Linked DNA regions of Homo sapiens: region 1 is linked to region 2. Evidence: promoter capture Hi-C in human tissues and cell types (Jung and others, 2019). All regions are on one chromosome and are shown on one strand. Each heading gives the region's core, a stretch centred on a gene start or on the middle of the fragment in contact. The rest is flanking DNA. Distances are from core to core; before and after follow the strand shown. Region 1 overlaps KLC1 (kinesin light chain 1). Region 2 holds the start of AKT1 (AKT serine/threonine kinase 1).

Region 1 (4,951 bases), core at 298-2,797, 1.1 Mb before region 2:
ACACTCTCCTGGACGGGTTCTGTAGCTACACAGTCATCGGGGATACTCAGGTTCCTAACATCTGCCACACTGCACCTTGGCAGCCTGTCTTGGGGACTGAGAGTGAGCTCCATGTGGCCCTGTTCTAGCATAGGGGAAGGGAAAGGAAGGACGTGCCTCCTTCCTTGAAGGCTGCTGCTTTGATGATGTGTACAGCAGTGCTTACATTGCATTGGCCAGACCTTATGGCTGTACCTGGGTGAGTGGGAGACTGGGGAATGTTGTCTTCCCACTTACAGTGGCAGGTCCTTAAGCCTAAGGAAGGAGAATGGACACTGGCCAGTGGGTGATGGTCTCTGCAATCCCAGGGCCAGATTGCTTCATATCTTTGACTAACCTTTGTTTCTATAATATCATGCTTGACATAGAGATGAAAACACTGGAAACATCTAGGTTTTTAAATACTCTCTCCTGATAACTTCTGGCTCTGTCAGCATATCTTAGGTAAAATTAAATATACCAAAGCTTTGCTTCTTTCTTAGCATTCTCTAGTTTAGTGAGTGAATAGAGCAGAAGAGGGGCTGCTGGCCAGCGGTTTCTGCTTTCATAGAGGAAGTGACTGCCCACACCCTGATTTTAGAGTCTTCATCCTAACCATGTTACAGCCTTGAGTTGCAGAACTGTAGCTCTGTTTGGATATTGTGAACGTATTATTTCTCAAGTTCTGTTACCTTGAGAACAGGTGACATGAATTTAAACTTGCTTTTTTGGTGTCGCAGATAAGAGTTTTAAAAAAAGAAGGAAGAAAAGGTCCCACCTTCTGGAGTTTCAGGTTTTAAACCTAGGAGGATAATAACCTGGTTATTATGTTATGAGAGGGATGGGCAGATGTATGTTCTAAAGAGAGAACAGATTGCTGCCAGCCAGCTCCTAGCTGTTTGTGCTCTTATGCTCCTAGGAACTTGCCACAGCCTCACGCTGGTCTGTTCCAGAAACCAGTGAGCACTCTGTAGGCAGAGCCCTGGAGTGGCCCCTGGATTTTATGACATAAACATAAGCTTATGAGTGCACCAGTGCATTCTTACTCTTGGTGGTAGCTACAGAGATGTCTTCTCTCACCTTGGAACATCAAGGAAGATTTGTATGTGCACTGTTCTCTGACCCCCACTTGCAGCCCTTCACCAACATGCACTCTGTGCGCAGACATGCATGTGTGTACACGAGGTCTTACACATGGGAAAGGGTCTATAAAAAATTATGTTGGGCCCATCTTGATAGAAAGTAAAATAATACAGTTTCATCAGAAGGGTAGCTGTGTTTTCATTGCTAGTTCATTTGGCATGCTCTTCAAAAAAATAAGTATTTTTTTGTAGGCATTCTGAGCGTGTGATATTCTTTATCATACCCTGCTTTGTAGTCTGTGGCTGAAGGGGAAAAGAGAAGTAAATGGCAGATTGTACTTATATGTACTTTGGAGAAAATATCTGCGAGTGTAAGCTACAGCCCCAGCCACAGAATGTTCGCACGGGTGGGAGGGACTCTTGCTGGACAACGTGCCACAGTGCTGCACACGTTTCTGTCTGCTCAGGTTATGATGGCTTTGTCAAATCACCTGAATGCTGTGGAGTCCGAGAAGCAGAAACTGCGTGCGCAGGTTCGTCGTCTGTGCCAGGAGAATCAGTGGCTACGGGATGAACTGGCCAACACGCAGCAGAAACTGCAGAAGAGTGAGCAGTCTGTGGCTCAACTGGAGGAGGAGAAGAAGCATCTGGAGTTTATGAATCAGCTAAAAAAATATGATGACGACATTTCCCCATCCGTGAGTGGCTCTGTAGCAAATGTGGTGCTAATGTTTAAAATGGAGTCACTGGGAAAGTCATAGAGGTTCTGTTTGCCATATTCTTTTCATATTAGAACATATTAGAACATTAGAACATGCAAAAATGTTTTGTAAATATAAGCCACAATCCAGAGAGACACCATTACCTTCAACAAGGTCTGCCCCGAGGTCTGTCCCGAGGTCTGCCCCAGCTTAGGCTCTGGAGCTTCCTTGCCCCTCTGTAGCTTGGCTTCCATGCCATCAGCTGCTGGTCTAGCAGTGGTCCAATCTGGCCGTCTGAATTTGGACTCTGGGCAACCTCTCTGCCCCTTAGGGTGGGTGCTCTTGGCATTGCCATTCTCTTTGAAACTCCCCTGGCCCTCTGGACACCACCTGGCTCTCTTGCCGCCTCTCTCATCCTCCCCTTGGCTTCCCTTGCCAGCTTATCTTTCTGTATCTGCAGGGGAAGAAACGATCTTGGTTTTCTTCTTCTTCTTTTTTTTACAAGGAGTCTCGCTCTGTCACTCAGGCTGGAGTGCAATGGCACAATCTTGGCTTACTGCAACCTCCATCTCCCGGGTTCATGTGATTCTCCTGCCTCAGCCTCTGGAGTAGCTGGGATTACAGGTGTGTGACACCATGCCCAGCTAAGTTTTTTTTTTTTTTTTTTTTTTTTTTAGTAGAGATGAGGTTTCACTGTTTTGGCCAGGCTGGTCTTGAACTCCTGGCCTCAAGTGATCTGCCCACCTCAGCCTCCCAAAGTGCTGGTATTCCAGGTGGGAGCCACCATGCCCAGCCTTCTTTCTCTGTTGGCTCTATTTGGATGTTTATCCTAGTCTCAGTTATTTTTCATTCAACATTTATTTCTGATTCAGTTAACTTTTTTTTTTTTTTTTTTTGAGATGGAGTCTCACTCTGTCACCCAGGCTGGAGTGCAGTGGCACGATCTTGGCTCACTGCAACCTCCACCTCCCGGGCTCCAGCGATTCTCCTGCCTCAGCCTCCCGAGTAGCTGGGACTACAGGTGTGTGCCACCACGCCTGGCCAATTTTTTGTATTTTTAGTAGAGATAGGGTTTCATTGCGTTAGCCAGGATGGTCTTGATCTCCTGACCTTGTGATCTGCCTGCCTCGGCCTCCCAAAGTGCTGGGATTACAGGTGTGAGCCACTGCGCCCAGCCAGTTAACTTCTTTTTATTTTTTTTTTTACTTTTTTTTTGAGACGAAGTCTCGCTTTTGTACCCCAGGCTGGAGTGCAATGGCGCGATCTTGGCTCACTGCAGCCTCCACCTCCTGGGTTCAAGCGATTCTCCCTTCTCAGCCTTCCAAGTAGCTGGGATTACAGGTGCGTACCGCCACGACTGGCTAATTTTTGTATTTTAAGTAGAGATGGGGTTTCACCATGTTGGCCACTCCTGACCTCAGGTCATCCCCCCGCCTCGGCCTCCCAAAGTGCTGGGATTACAGGCGTGAGCCACCACGACCGGCTTCAGTTAACTTCTTTTTAAAGAAAATTTCTAAATTTTGGAATTATTTTATTTTACTTATTTTTAATTTTAAAAATTTTACCCTCCTCTCAAGTTTCCAATGGAATAATTTTAAATTGATTGAAAAGTTGAAAAGTTAGAGAAGAAAATTGATGTGCCCATAACCCAGTCTCCCCTGATCGTCCATAATCATAGAACAGTGGTCAGAACTAAGATATTAACATCAACACTTTACTGTTAACTGAAACACAGACTTGGTTGGATGTCACCAGGCCTTCCACTAGTATCTCTTTTCTGTGCTAGGACCTAGTCCAGTGTTCCACATTGCATTTGGAACTAACGTTTTTTAAATACCTGTATGATGCCAGACATGTTCATGTACATAATCAGAATACTAGAGAGGTGCACATTTGTGTGTCTCGTTCGAATCCCCATCCTAAGACTACTGAAACAGTTTTTTGCGTAGCACCAGCAAACCTGCATTTCCCCTCTGTCTTCATCTGCTTGGGCTACTGTAACAAATACCACGGGCTGGATGGCTTAACATTTATTTTCTCATAGTTCTGGAAGTCCGAGATCAGGGTACCAGCAGGGTCCGGTTCTGGGGAGGGCCTTCTTTCTGGCTTGCAGACTGCTGCCATCTCTTTGTGTTCTCATATGGTACAGAGAGAGAGGGAGTAAGCTCTCTGGTGTCTCTTTTTATGAGGGCACTAATCCCATCATGAGGGCCCCACACTTTCGAGCTCATCTTATCCTGATCACCTCCCAAAGGTTTCATCTCTAAATACCATTACACTGGGGGTTAGGGCTTTAACATAGGAATTTGGGGAGAACACAGTTTAGTTGACAGCATGCTATTTCAAAAGGCTTACCAAAATCCTCCCTCACATCTCCTCTAGGTTAGGGGCCAACTAAATGTTTTGATTTAAAAGATGTGGCTGGGCGCAGTGGCTCATGCCTGTAATCCCAGCCCTTAGGGAGGCCGAGGCAGGCAGATCACCTGAGGTCAGGAGTTGGAGGACAGCCTGGCCAATATAGTGAAACCCTATCTCTACTAAAAATACAAAAATTAGCCAAGCATGGTGGCACATACCTGTAATCCCAGCTACTCAGGAGGCTGAGGCAGGAGAATCGCTTAAACCCAGGAGATGGAGGTTGCAGTGAGCCAAGATCATGCCACCGCACTCCAGTCTAGATGACAGAGTAAAGCTCTGTCTCAAAAAAGAAAAAAAAAAAAAAAATTAAGGCCGATGCGGTGGCTCATGCCTGTAATCCCAACATTTTGGGAGGCTGAAGCGGGTGGATTACCTGAGGCCAGGAGTTCAAGACCAGCCTGGCCAACATAGCAAAACCCCTTCTCTATTAAAAAATACAAAAAAATTAGCTGGGTGTGGTAGAGTGCACCTGTGGTCCCAGCTACTTGGGAGGCTGAGGCATGGAATTGTTTGAACCTGGGAGTTGGAGGTTGCAGTGAGCCAAGATCATGCCGCTGTACTCCAGCTTGGGTGGCAGAGGGAGACCCTGTCTCAGAAAAACAAGCAATAAATAAATAAATAAATAAATAAATAAAAGATGCTTGCTCTAGAGTGCTATGGAAATGCAAGTACTTTGCAGATGTCGATGCCAGCAGTGATTGACCTGGGACATTGGAGGATGTTGAGAAGAAG
Region 2 (5,176 bases), core at 1,378-3,877:
CCTAACCTGATGCACCAGCTGACAGGCTGCCTCCTCCAGGCAGCCCCTTTGACTTCTTTGACCCAGGCTGGCTCGGCCTTCCCTAAGCCCCTGGTGACAGATGGCCCCGTTTGCTCTCCCTGTCCATGGTGTTCCTACCCATGGATCCTGGGACAGGGCACAGGGCTCCTCCCTGCTCCCCAGACTAGGAAAGCAAAGAAATTCAAACATGAGGAAGACAGGACCAGGATGCAGGCCACTGGCGCAAACGGGAGTCCAGAGCCCTCCAGCGCAAGCCCAAAAACCTCCTGGGAGAAACCCCAGGCCCCTCCTAAACCACAGCGCCCCTGCCGGTCTGAATCTGGTTCATTCATTTGGCCAACATGTACCGGGCGTCTCAGGTTTTGCCAGGCCCAGTGCTGGGCGCTGGAGACAAAGAGAGGTTCAGACAAGTCCGTCAGTGAGGAGCACCCAGTCCAGGGTGGTTACAGACCCATAATTACAGCAGTCGGGAGGCAGCAAGTAAGTGGGGGAGCACTGGACAGGCCCCCGCCCTGCAGCGGCCCACCAGCCAACCCTCACCTGAGCACACTTTATCCATTGATCCTGCATGGCTTCCTCATTTCCCCTCTGATGGATGAACTCCTAGGCATCCCTCAAAACCCAGTTCCCACATCACCAACTACAGGCATCCCCAGAAAGAGCACTTCGCATGCTCTTCCTGTGAGCAGTCCTCTGCTACCCTTCCAGATGGGCCTTCCTGAGGGGAGGAGGGTCCTCTCTGGGACCTCCAGGCCAGGCAGAGACCCCTGACGACCTCTGTGGAATGGATCCCAACATGGGTCTTTCCACAGCCAGCTTAGACGCTCTCCCCCCAGGCCACCTTTCTGGCCTCCCGAGGCAAGGGCTGGACACCCACAAAGGGTTGCTTTGCACTGATTGTCTTAAGCTACACTTAGAATGGCAGGAAGGCCCACTGCCTTGTGTCTAATGCCAGGACAGGGAAGACCACACCTTACCCAAAGAGGGAAATGCCCCAAGTACTTAGCAGGATGGAAAGCAGGCCAGACTCGAGGAAGGCACCGCAGGACTCCGAGGGCAGGGCTCCGAGCCGCGCACGCCTCAGGCACAGGGGGCTCTGACGACACTGAGTGGGCGTGGCCTGGAGGCAGAGGGCTGGACTCAAAGACCTCTGGATGTCCCCCCACCCCCACACGGGCCTGAGCCCCTCCAAGGCCTGCTGCTGACAGAGTCAGACAGCTGTCCAGAGCCATGTGTAAAAATACATCTGTGCTCACACAGGGTGGTGTACGTCTGCACAGAAACGTATACACCAGGCCAGCACAGGGCTGCCTGTGGGGGCGGAGGGACCCCGACTTCCCACAGCCTCCGTACCTGCCGCCTGCCTTTACCATAAGCACATATTCTTGCTACTATTATTAAGTCACAACTTAAAAAAAAATACTCTGTTTTCGAAAGGGCTCCTCCATCTGCCTCCAGAACCCTGGTGTATGAGAAGTCTACACAGCTCCCGGGAGAGGCAACCGGACCCCCACCAACGGACTCCGTCCGCCCTTCGCTCGGATGAGGGACTCAAAGCAGTCAAGAAGTGGCCACCTGGAGCAAGGCCGAGAGACCCAGGAGTGAATGTGGGGCGGCCTCTGGCTGCAGAGCAGGGGCCCAAGCTCACCCGCTGACCAAGGCAGCACTCAGAGGCCGTCCCGACAGGACCAAGCTCGCTAGCGCCCCAGGATACTCAATCTAAGGGGCAAGCCCCAGCTGCCCTCCAAGCCTTGGCCTCTGGGATGGGCGGGCAGGACCTCCAGGGCCCACCCAAGACAGGAAGCAGTTCCGGGGCCCAGGAGGGTCACAGTCCTTTGTGGCTAGCCTGGGTACCCCGCCACCACGTACAACTTTTCGTCCGTGGGAAACGAAGTCTCCTTCCGGGGCCCTCCCACAAACTTGAAGGCCGGCCGCGGCGAGTCTTTCTCCAACCCCGGGGCACCTCCGCCGGCTGCCTCGCTGGCCCAGCGCCCGGGGAGCCCCACGGCCCGCAGGGGCACCCCGAGCCCCAGCTCCAGGCCCGGCGGCGTCCCTTCTCTCGGGTCCCGGCCTCGCCCGGCGGAGCGGCCTCCCCAAGGTCATGAGGGAGGCTGGGGCCGGCAGCCTGCACCCCCGGCGCCCGGCGTGGGGCCGCCCTCCCTTGGCCGGGCCCGCGCGCCCCGCGCCCTCCCCGCCCAGGCCCGCTCGGCCACTTCCTGCTCCCGCTCCTCCATTCTGGCGGCGCCGCGGCTCGCGCCCCGGCCCGACCGGCCGCGAACAAAGCGGCCCGGCCCGCGGGGAGGAAATCCAGGCCCGGGCGGCCACGGCGGGCGGGGACTCACCGGGCCGCCGCGTCCGGGCGCGAGCGCGGGCCTAGCCGGGCCGCGGCCTCCGGCGCCCGCCGCTCCGCATCCCCGCGGGCCGGCGCTGGGCGGGGCCGGGCTGGAGGCCGCGGCGGGCGGGGGCGCTGCTCGGGGCCGGGCCTCGCGTGCCGCCGCCGCTCGGTGCCCGGTGCCCAGCGCTCGGTGCTCGGCCGCCTGCTCCCGTCTTCGGGCCGCGCTGCGTGCGCTGGGCCAGCCGCCTGCCGCGCTCGGTCCTGCCGCCGCCGCCGGCCCGCCCTCTCCCCGCCCCGCGCCCGCCCCGCGCCCGGAGCCGCCCGCCCACATCCGCCTCCGCCGCCCGGGGCGTCCCCACCGCGCGGCCGGCGGCGAGGGCGGAGCGCGCTCGGGGAGCGCGCGGCCGGGCTGAGGGGCAGCTCCCGACGACCTGGGGCCTGGGCTGGGCCGCTAACGGAGCCCGGCCACCAGCCAGCCCGTCCCGGGGCCACGCCCTCTCTGGCCTCAGTTTCCCCGTCTGTAAAGTGACCCGGCGCTTCTGGGCTCGCTCTGCCGTGACCCTAGCAGAAGGGGCCCGAGACAGGTCAGGGACGAATCCCGGACTTCTGCCTCCGCGCGCGGGGCGGGGGTGGCTTAGGTTGACTTTCAGGCTGCCCCACTCTGGGGGGCGTGGAGGGGGCGGCCAAGAGTGACCTAAAAGGCCCAATCCCAAGACCTTGTGCCTCTGGGGGAAGTGCGGGAGGATGCCAGGACAGGAGGTCAGTTGGAGGTGGGCCTCCAAGGAGCAGGAAGGCTCCGAGGGGAGTCAACCATTCACCTAGGTACTGGCAGCTACACTCACAAAAGGGGGACTTTGCTGGGGAGTGGGAGAAGAGGGGCACACCTTGCCTGGCTCCCACCTTGAGCTGGGAGCAGACACCAGACAGAGGAGGAGCGGTGTCTAGGGTGGGCTGTGACAGCTGACAGCCCAGAGCCCTCCCTGCTGGGTGGACTTGGTCAGCCCGGACACCCAGTCCGAAGTCCACTGGGAGGCAGATGGCCCGGGTATGGAATGAGTAAGTGGGACACAGACCCCTTTCTCCTGGACACTCACAGGAGAGTGCAGGTGACTGCCACCCCGACCCCTTCCTAGCCAGAAGTTCCTCCGACAACTGCCCCTCCCCCATTCCAGAGGCCCACAGTTGATAATAACCCTTTTGTGAAAGACAGACTCTTGTGAGTTACCTTCCTGAGGCTGCTAAGTATTGGGGTTGGGGGAGCATTTTTATTTTCAGCCAGAGTGAGTTCAGCTGGCAGCAGGGGAGGGGGTGGGAGGAGATGCAGACAGAGGCAGCAGGTTCGGCCCAGTGCTCAGGACAGAGTCTGCAGCCAAAACTCGGGCTTCATCCCTGCCTCTTGGGGCTGACCAAGAGAAGGACTCTCTCCCCCTGCATGAGGGCACTCGCTCCTCAGACAGGGGACTCCCCATTCCTGCCTCTCGCCTGAGCACCTCTGCTCCCTCCCAGCTCAGACTTTGTAACCCCAGGAAGGGCCCACCTCCAGGGGGCCAAGTCAGAGGCCCAGTGGTCTGCGCCGCTTGGGTGGGATACCTGACACAAGGGTTGCCCCCAGAGCCTGGGCGTCTGGTGTCTGTCTCTCACCCAGCAAACCTGCACCATGAGCCACCTGGGGCTCCCTCTGGGACTGTCCCACCTGCCCACTGCTCCCCGAGGAAGAGTTCCTGGTATCTGTCCACCATCCTGGGCTCTGCCATGCAAGGATGGAGGAAGGAATTCAGGGAGGAAGCAGAGGGTAAGAGGGCCATGAGACAAGGCCAGCAAGTGGCCGAGGCTTGGGGATGTGGGAGGGAGCAGGGCACCCTCTCATGGAAGAGGCAGTGACATTGCGGGCTGTTCTTGAAGTGGTTGGACCTCTTGCTTATTTTGCACTGGCTGTCTCCAAGGAGGCCTCCCAGTCTTCCCAGCCTGGTGCCCTGGCATCTGCTGGTGCCTGCAACCCACTGTGGGCCCCACACTCCAGTCCTGTCTTCACCTTGGCATGAACTGCCCTCCCCCAAGACGGGGATCTCCCAGTGGGCAGGGCCATCTCCCTCTCCTCCAGCGTCCCAGAGGGAAAGCAGAGTCCTCTCTTCAAGAACACCCCCTCCCACCCCAGACAGAATGGTCAGGAGAGAACCCAGCCCCACGGCTGCTGCTGGGACTGCTGAGGTGCTCTGTGGCCAGATGTTTCCGACAAAAACTGCTGCACCAGGGAAGGGCCCGACGGCTGCCTCCTCCCAGAGCTCAGGGGCCTCCTGCCCTGTCACCTTCTGCAGCTGCTGGCCGGGGGCAGGACTCGAGGGCCCTGGGCTGTGTAGGTCCCAGCAGCAGCTGCAGGGCGGGGCCTCAGGGCAGCTCCCAGGCCAGATGGCCGCCTGAGTCTGCAGAGGTTCTGCCTGAACCACCACCGCCGCGACAGTGGCTGTGTGACGGTGTCCTGTCATTCCTGCACTTGAGACCCAGCCAGTCACAGGGGCTCTGAGGACTACAGGCTGGCCAGGATCCCAGCACCAACTCTGGGCGGTCTCTGCCTGGAACAGCCCCCCTTCCCTGATCGGTGTGGGGCAGGAGGGACTTGAACCCAGACATCCCGACCTGAGAGGGATAAGGAGCTTCTCTCCCACTGTCCCCTCCCCTTCATCTAGCCCATTCCTAGCTGGGCCCTCCTTCCAGGTCCTACCCTAGGCTCCTGAAGGCAGCATCCTGACCCTCCCTGTGTACCACAACCCCCATTAAGTGTCCAGGCTCTCTCTGTCCCGCCAGCCAGGCAGGGCAGGCTAG

Evidence for each region. The method cuts DNA at HindIII sites, captures the fragments that hold promoters and counts their contacts. A contact is called where the count stands out against the background at its distance.
Region 1: a contact is called between a fragment that was not itself captured here and the fragment with the promoter of AKT1 in region 2, in 1 of the 25 tissues and cell types used here (lymphoblastoid cells).

Annotation. Positions count from the first base shown.
Region 1 is chr14:103,655,979-103,660,929 of GRCh38, forward strand. It overlaps KLC1 (kinesin light chain 1), which reads left to right. Exons shown (of 17, transcript NM_001394837.1): 3 at 1,568-1,798. Among named protein-coding and RNA genes, the nearest start is that of KLC1, 29 kb to the left of the region's middle. The HindIII fragment of the contact is 3,897 bases long and covers 1-3,496 here.
Region 2 is chr14:104,793,121-104,798,296 of GRCh38, forward strand. AKT1 (AKT serine/threonine kinase 1) reads right to left here and starts at 2,628. Exons shown (of 15, transcript NM_001382430.1): 1 at 2,364-2,628; 2 at 7-184. RefSeq lists enhancers at 1-453, 454-1,093, 1,094-1,735, 3,777-4,549, 4,550-5,176 and silencers at 2,000-2,319, 2,350-2,399, 2,580-2,939. The HindIII fragment of the contact is 31,557 bases long and covers 1-5,176 here.